Linked DNA regions of Homo sapiens: regions 1 and 3 are each linked to region 2. The links are contacts of gene promoters, found by promoter capture Hi-C in human tissues and cell types (Jung and others, 2019). All regions are on one chromosome and are shown on one strand. The core of a region is centred on a gene start or on the middle of the fragment in contact, and the rest is flanking DNA. Distances in the headings are between cores, read along the strand shown. Region 1 overlaps DLG1 (discs large MAGUK scaffold protein 1). Region 2 holds the start of FYTTD1 (forty-two-three domain containing 1). Region 3 holds the start of MIR4797 (microRNA 4797).

Region 1 (2,700 bases), core at 149-2,648, 510 kb before region 2:
TCAGGAGATGCCAACATCAAGACACCACAGATGTTAGACTTACCTAACAGAGTTTAAAGTAGGCGTCATATAAAAAATTAATGAACAATTACAAATATACATGAAACAAATGAAATAATAAAAACTCACAGCAAAGAAATAGAAAGTCTAAGCAAAGAAATACAAGACACAAAGAACTATATGGAAATGACAGAACTGAAAATACAATAACACTAAAGACTCAATGTGAACAACAGAGGAAAAAGATTTAAGTGAAAAGTGAATACAGCCTAAGGGATCTGTGAGACACCATACAGAATGTCAATCCATTTGAAAAGATAGATATAGCACATGAACTATCATCTCCAGCTACAACTGGATGAAGTCAGAAATCAGTAATAGAAGGAAAACTGGAAAATTCACCAATTTGTGGAAATTAAACACACTCTTACACAAGCAATGAATCAAAGAAGAAATCAAAAAGGAAATTAGAAGATATTTACATATGAATGAACACAAAAACACAACATAACAAAATTTATGGTATAAAGTGAAAGCAGTGCTAAGGAGTAAATGTATAGCTCTAAATGCTTACATTACAAAACAAGAAAGATCTCAAATCAAGAACCTAGTCTAAAACTTAAGGAACTAGTAAAACAAGAACAAACGAAACACAAGGTTAGCAGGAGGAAAAAAATAATAAAGATGAGGGCAGAGATACACAAAATAGAGAACAGAGAAACAGAAGAAAAAACTTAATGAAACCAAAAGTTGTTTCTTTAAATAAACAAAAACACAAACCTTTAACTATATGGAATTAAGAGAGAAAGAAGACTCAAATTACTAAAATCAGAAATGAAAGTGAGAACATTTCAATCAATTCTAGAGAAATAAATAGGATAACAGAGTCCTATATAGAGCAAGTAAATGCCAACAAACTAGATAACCTAAATGAAATGGAAAACTCCTAGAAACACAAAACCTATCAAGACTAAACCATGAAGAAAGAGAAAATCTAAATAGATCTATAATTAGCAGAGACACTGAATAAGTAATCAAAAATCTTTCAACAAAGAAAAGTCCTGGACCTGAAGGCTTCACTGGTGAATTCTGCCAACCATTTAAAGAAAAATTAATGCCAATCCTTCTCAAACTTTTCCAAAAAATTAAGGAGGAGGGACTACTCACTCCTAAACTCATTTCATTAAGCCAGCGCTACCAAATACCAAGGCCAAAGATAGTACTAGAAAAGAAAACTACAGACCAATATCCTTCATGAACAGTGATACAAAAATCCTCAATAAAATACTAGCAAATCAGATTGACAGCATATTAAAAGGATTACACACCATGACCCAGTGGGATTGGGATTTATTCCTGGAATATAGAATAAATCAACATACAAAAATTAATCAAGAGGATTTCCAGTTCCAAAATGTCAGCACAGAAGCAAGCTGGCTTCACTCCTCTCACAGAAAACCAAAAACAAATATACAGAGCCGATGTTATTACCAGGAATATCCCAGAACTCATATGAAGATGCGACAGTTCAGGGGCCACAGAAAAGTTAAAAAAAAAAAAAAGAATTCTAGCAGATGGTGAAAGAATTGGACTTCCACATCCATGATGTCCCTCCCCTCATTCTGGCCAGCACCTAATGGGCAAAAAATTTTCCCACAACTCACTGTTTCTACACTGGAAAAAGTGAGACTGAGATATAACTCATGCTTCCCCATCATCTAATGTTCTCTGGCAGGAGACTGTCCCTTATCTTAGCCCACAGGATGCATCTCAAATGCCAGAAGGGAAAAATATCCCTGCGGATAGGCAGAAACAAAAAAGGGAGGCAAGACTACCATCTCCAGCTCTGGAAATTCTACTGTAACTCAGCCAAGCAAGACACTGAATCAGAGTAGATGTTCATTAGATGTTCATCAACACCATCTGTAGAAGGTTTATTGTACAGGTCCCCTGGGCAGGAACTCCTAGCCAGCATTCCCACACTACTGGGACATCCCCTTTGGAATCTCCCTCATTCGGGAAGAACAGTGCTCTGGTTCTTTACTAGAACCTAGGTGAACCTGGGCTTAAGGTAACTAGAGAGAGCTAAAAAGGAGGCAGCAACCTAACAGTAAAGAACTTCTAAGCAAATACATCCAGTAAAAACCAAAACAAGCCAGACAGAGAAGGCTGAATAAAACAGCCACAACAAACAACAGAAAACAGGTACCCATGATCTCCCCAAATGGACAAAGCAAGGAACCAATAACTGACACTAATGAGATAGTGATCTATGAGCTCTCTGACCAATATTCAAAGTAGTATTTTTAAGAAAACTCAGTGATCTCCAAGATAACACAGAAATGCAATTCAGAAATTTATCAGGAAATTTTAAAAAGAGATTAAAGTAATTTTTTAAAATTATCCAAGTCATAACACCAAAAGAAAAGAAAAGAAAAAAATCAAACAGAAATCTTGGAACTGAGAAATACACTTGCTGAACTGATTCATTAGAGGCTCTTGACATAAGAGAGGATCAAGCAGAGTAAACAATCATTAGGCTCAGAGACAGGCTATGAAAACACACATAGGAGAAAAAAGAATGAAAAGCAACAAAGATTGCCTATAAGATATAGAAAATTACCTCAAAAAAAAAATGTAAGAATTATTAGTGTTCAAAGAAAGTTGAGCAAAAGCATGAGGTAGAAAGCTTATTCAAAG
Region 2 (2,700 bases), core at 99-2,598:
TTTCCCCAAGATAAGACTACTAGGCTTACAAAAAAGTCATGGTTCTTTGAGTTCAGCTGGAAACATAATCTGTGTGAAGACTCCTGGTTTTATCCATGCTACATATACAGGAAACGTTCACATTTACTTTTATTGTTAAGGTGACCGCAAAATTGTCACTGCAAGCTTTGCTTTAAATTCAGGCCTGGAAAGGGGAGCTGGAACAGCTGGCTTTAATTTTTAAGTGTGACATGCATAAGAAATATTTTAAAACATGGGATCCCCAAGCAAAAAATAGTAAATGTGTCATTGGTGTTGAAGTTGGAAGCCACATGACATTGTGACATGACTAAATTAAGCAAAGGCTACTGTGGTTTTGAGATGGCTGGTTTCCATGCTAAAGGAATTTTTGCATTTTATGAATTGGAGAGGAGAAAGGCGACAGAGATTTCTAGGTGGACAGAATGCATCTGGTATTGTCCTTAGATGTAAATATCCGAGATAGTTTTAAGCTGTATGAGGGTGATATAACCTAAACGCTTCCACATAAACGCAGTTACTTCAGGGAAGGAGAATGAGGTAAGAAGAGAGGTAAATACCGTATGTTGTAAACGGAAAAAAGTTATCATGCAGGAATTCATCAAATATTAAACTGTTTTCCCGTAGGGATGATTAAAAAGTAAACGAACCCTTCTATCCATTCCCAATGCAAATGAATTAGAAGAAAATGCAGCTACATCAACAGAGGTACTTACCCCTCCCGAGGGAAGCTGAGGTCTTATTAGGGTAGTGAACACCGTGCCAGATGTTTTGAGAGTGCCGATTGAGAGAAGGTACAGACACGGGAAACGTTAGCATTTACTTTGGAGTTAAGGTGACGCAGGAACCGTCACTGCAGCGTTTGCTTTGCGTTCAGATGCGGCAGCTCAGCGCAGCTGTAGGTGGAGGAGCGTGCCAGGGAGGGGGGAGCTGGGATGCAGCTGCAATCTACACTCGCAGGGGTCTGTCCTGCCTCCCGAGGCTGCGTTGCGGTGGGCGCGAAAGGCTCGTGTGTACCGAAGTATAGGGGACCTGTCTGCAGCAGGAGGGACTCGAAGGACACGGAGGATTATATCACTGAAGGCATAAGATTCAGAGGTGCCCGCGGTCTAGCATCCCCCAGTTTGGGCGGAAAGTCGAACTGCTCACAACGGCGGTCCTCGCGAGCGCCTAGCACAGCGGCTGCAATGCCTCGTCCGATCCTGCGAGGGCCGCTAGGAGCGAGTCACGGCGCGGGGCCGCTCTGGTCGCCCGCGAGTGTCGGTGGCCCCGCCCCGCCCGCAGCCGCGGGTGGAGACCGAGGACGGCGCCGGCGCGTGCGCGCTCCCTCGGTGCGGCGGGCTGCGTGCGCGAGTGGGAGGTGGCAGGCCTGCGACTCCGGCCTTGTCCGCGCCCGCTCTCGGCGCGACGTCTCCAGCCATGAACCGGTTTGGTACCCGGTTGGTGGGAGCCACGGCGACTTCTTCGCCGCCGCCGAAGGCCCGCAGCAATGAAAACCTCGACAAAATAGATATGTCTTTGGGTGAGGGGCCGAGTTGGACCGAGTTGGAGTGCGGGGGAGGGCGCGGGTGGAAGCCGGCGGCGCGGTTTGTGGGGGCAGGGGCGGTCGGCAGCAGTTGCCGGCGGAGTTTTCTCGCTGGTGGGCGGACCCGAGCGGAGGCCCGGAGGACAGCCGGGAGCGCAGGCTCGACGCCAGGTGCCCGGCTGGACCGCGAGGGACCCGGGCGTCCCCTCGGCCGCGGCAGTCGGAGGAGGGGCTGTGGAGGCGGGGGCAGGGGCGCTGCGGGCCCGAAGGTTCGCAGGGTCGCGGGGGGCGTCTCTTCTCCCCGGAGGGGCTACGGCTCGCCGCTCGCCGGCTCTTTGTGAGGAAAGATCTGCCGGTTTCCCCGGAGCGCGTTCGCGGTGGGCGTTATCGGGGAGCGAGGGGAATGGTCCGACCGAGCCGTTCTCTCTGAAGAAAGGTCTTGGAGAGCCCGGCCGGGGCTGCGGTCGGTTAAACCAGCGCTTCCGGAGCTTTCCCTGGTCGCCGGGCGTTCCAGGCCGGCGCCGGCCATGGCTGCCGGGCGCGACTCTCGGGGCCACCTCCGGCCGCGGCCCCGGAGCGTCTGTCAGAAAGGAAGCAGCGCTCGGCCGCCTGTGGGATGTGGTTGTGTATTGAGCGCTGCCTAGAAAAGCACAGTCTCCCTCTCCAGGCCTCAGAGCTAGCTAATGGGGGAGAAAGCAAACATCTTTGAAGGAGAGATGATTGCTGTGGCTCGCTGAGAAGCCAGGTAAAGCGTGGGGTTCTTGAGCGCATCTGAGAGGGTGGCGTGGTTTCTTGCCGATTATATAAAAACCGGGAGGTTGGTGATTCCATTAAAATCCAGCCCTGACACTACCGAGGCACCAGCCGCTGTGGTTAGCTTAGGTGGGCTAAAAGTACGAATATTTTTGTCGGGATTCAAGTGATGGCGTTGGGTGTAAGTCAGCTCTGCCAGGTGTTTGGCTGGCAGTTTTTCGGATATTTGAAAAGTACCTGACTAGTGGATTCCGAGGCGTACCCTTTCCCAGGACGGTCTTTAGAGTGATAACTGTCTTGGAAACCTTCTTTCGGTTTTCATTTCTTCCCATTTGTCTTGTGTGTCTTTTGTTGTGGTTTATCTGGAACGTTTTTGGTTCCAGGTGAGATGGGAACTATTGATT
Region 3 (2,700 bases), core at 161-2,660, 460 kb before region 2:
AGAAACACTGTCAATTAAAAATGACATATACCAGATATTGAAATATTTAACAGTTGGTATTTTAGAACAAATATAATACAGTACGTACATGCTTGTCCCTCTGAATAATCCAAAAGTACAGGAACCTAATCTATGTATCAACTACAGGGGGGGACACCAAACCCCTAGAGACTCAAACTTTTTTAAATGCATGAAAAGTCAATATAAACTACCAGTTCAAAGAATCAATCAATAAATGATCAATGCAGACTGAAAATCCAAAGACACTTGGCACCCCAAACAGATAACTAGATAACTCACTGCGGCCTAAACAAGTGATTTCCAAATTAAGGAAGTGAAAAATCTAAGCACTCAATGACTCCAAACAGCTCAGGTGGCCAAGACCCCTGTTCTCCTTTAATCCAGTGGTCCACAGGTACCAACTCAGAAGACAGAGTGCCACTTACTGAGAGAAAAAACCTTTCAGTAAGTGGCACTCTGTCTTCTGAGTCGGATTTTTCTGCAAACACTATGGACACAATGAACTGGTTTAGCTTAGGGCAGTTTACAAGCTTAAAGTACATTTATGACACTGTTTCAAAACAATGGTAGAGTTGCAAAATACAAAGAAAATCTTATCAGACTAAACATTTTCAGACTAAGTATTAAAAGTTATTCAGGAAACACAAGAGAATGTATTTATTCCGTAGTATCAACAATTATAGCATGGAAACACACAGAACCTCTATTAAACGTTATCTATTTCAAAACTCCTAAAATCTATTACTTGTCTTACACCAAAATGTGATATAGTACCACATCCTATAGAACATTAAATATAAGTAAATTTAAATGTCAAAGTAAATTCACAACCAATGAAATTAGAAGATTCACAAATATAAACTTAGTAATTAGGAAGCTAACTCTAGGCCAGACGCGGTGGCTCACGCCTGTAATCCCAACATTTTGGGAGGCCGAGGTGGGTGGATCACGAGGTCAGGAGATCGAGACCATCCTGGCTTACACAGTGAAACCCCGTCTTTACTAAAAATACAATACAAAAAATAAAAAATTAGCCGGACGTGGTGGTGGGCACCTTTGGTCCCAGCTACTCAGGAGGCTGAGGCAGGAGAATGGCGTGAACCTGGCAGGCGGAGCTTGCAGTGAGCGGAGATCTCGCCACTGCACTCCAGCCTGGGTGACAGAGTGAGACTCTGCCTCAAAAAAAAAAAAAAAAAAAAAGAGAAGAAAGCTAACTCTATCAAAGTTCAATTGTACGTAAGAATAGACACATTCAAAACAGGCAAGGCAGAATAGGTCAAAAATGTCTCTGAACACAGCAAACCCATCCCCAATCTAGACAGAAATATAAATGTAGATTCTGTTATTTCACTAACGATTTAATTTTCTTAAGTTACAGCCATCACACAAAGAAAAGTCTGCAGTCTATCTATCTGCCTATCTATACATATATGTATATATATATCTCTATACTGTTGCGAAAAAACATACTTTTTTTGCAACAGTAACTGCACCAAATTACTAGGCTCAATGTTGATTTAGAAAACAAATAACTAAAAAATGCTTTTTGCTGTTTTTCCAGAGGAATCCAATTTGATCATCCATTCGGACCTTAAACCTCAGAAATTCAAATGTGTAAAAAATGTCCATCAATGTAAACAAAAATGGCAAAATGTGAATTTCTGGAGCTGGGTAACAGTTAAAAGGCAGTTCATTACACTGTGCTATGTATCCTTATGTTTTTAAAAGTCTATTAAAATGTTACATTTTTCAAAATTGTTCAGGTGCATCAAGTGGTCTTTACAAAAATCTTTCATTCTAAAACCGTAGAGAGCATCCATTTATCAATAATGTACCTGACAGGACACACTGACTTGAAAGTAGTCTTCAAATCACACCAACAATTATTCTATCAACAGATAGATGTAAGGCCATATCTGACTGGAAGTTACTGAAGAAATAAATGTAATATAATTAAGTATATGTCTTCTTATGTTAAAATGTTATATAGTTGATAACTAAAACAAAAAAAAAAAACTTCATTCTTAGAATTGGAAGAGACAAACTTTCTAGTTCGGTGGTTTGCAAACTTTTTGAGGTACCTGGACAAAAGAGCCAGACAAGTCACCTTGTTTTATACATAGGAGATTATACACAAAATATGAGATGATGCTTTTAAAAATGATTTATCTACTTAAAAAAGGCTTTAAACCCATTCTGTCATTTCAACAGCTACATTCTACAGCTAATATGGTGGCATAGAAAAGATTAAATGACTTGGGATATATCATTCAATTAGTGGCAAAAGAACTCAGGACTCTTATTTTTCCAGTTCTTTCAAACAATGCACCACTTCAAATTAAGTTACAATTAAGAATAAAACTTTCCATTTTCTTGCCTGTAAAATACGGTTACTAGACAAGATCATCTCTAAGATTATTTTCCAGGTCTAAAATTCTGACTCCATGAATGCCAAGCTCAAACAGAAATCTACATTAAGGGAATGAATGTTCTTCAACACAGCAGAACCCTTCACACGCTTTCAATGACTTCAGAGACATGCCAGTCAAATACAGAAACAAGCTCACAGTAACTCAGTCATACCTTTTAGGTCCTTAAACATCTGTGCAACATCTTTTAATAGTTAATGCTATTAAGATGTGAAACAATGTTCTCAAAAGCCACTGAAATAATCCTGAA

Evidence for each region. Contacts are between HindIII fragments. The study calls those that stand out against the background at their distance.
Region 1: a fragment that was not itself captured here is called in contact with the fragment with the promoter of FYTTD1 in region 2 in 1 of the 25 tissues and cell types used here (lymphoblastoid cells).
Region 3: a contact is called between a fragment that was not itself captured here and the fragment with the promoter of FYTTD1 in region 2, in 2 of the 25 tissues and cell types used here (H1 embryonic stem cells and lymphoblastoid cells).

The regions. Positions count from the first base shown.
Region 1 is chr3:197,238,296-197,240,995 of GRCh38, forward strand. The region is part of intron 4 of DLG1 (discs large MAGUK scaffold protein 1); the gene reads right to left. Among named protein-coding and RNA genes, the nearest start is that of MIR4797, 54 kb to the right of the region's middle. The HindIII fragment of the contact is 5,787 bases long and covers 1-2,700 here.
Region 2 is chr3:197,748,535-197,751,234 of GRCh38, forward strand. It overlaps FYTTD1 (forty-two-three domain containing 1), which reads left to right and starts at 1,349. Exons shown (of 9, transcript NM_032288.7): 1 at 1,349-1,540. The coding sequence starts at 1,438. It also overlaps a transcript of RUBCN not described here. RefSeq lists silencers at 1,146-1,485, 1,586-1,855. The HindIII fragment of the contact is 9,451 bases long and covers 1-2,700 here.
Region 3 is chr3:197,293,458-197,296,157 of GRCh38, forward strand. The region is part of intron 3 of DLG1 (discs large MAGUK scaffold protein 1); the gene reads right to left. It overlaps MIR4797 (microRNA 4797), which reads right to left and starts at 491; the gene lies at 421-491. The HindIII fragment of the contact is 6,857 bases long and covers 1-2,700 here.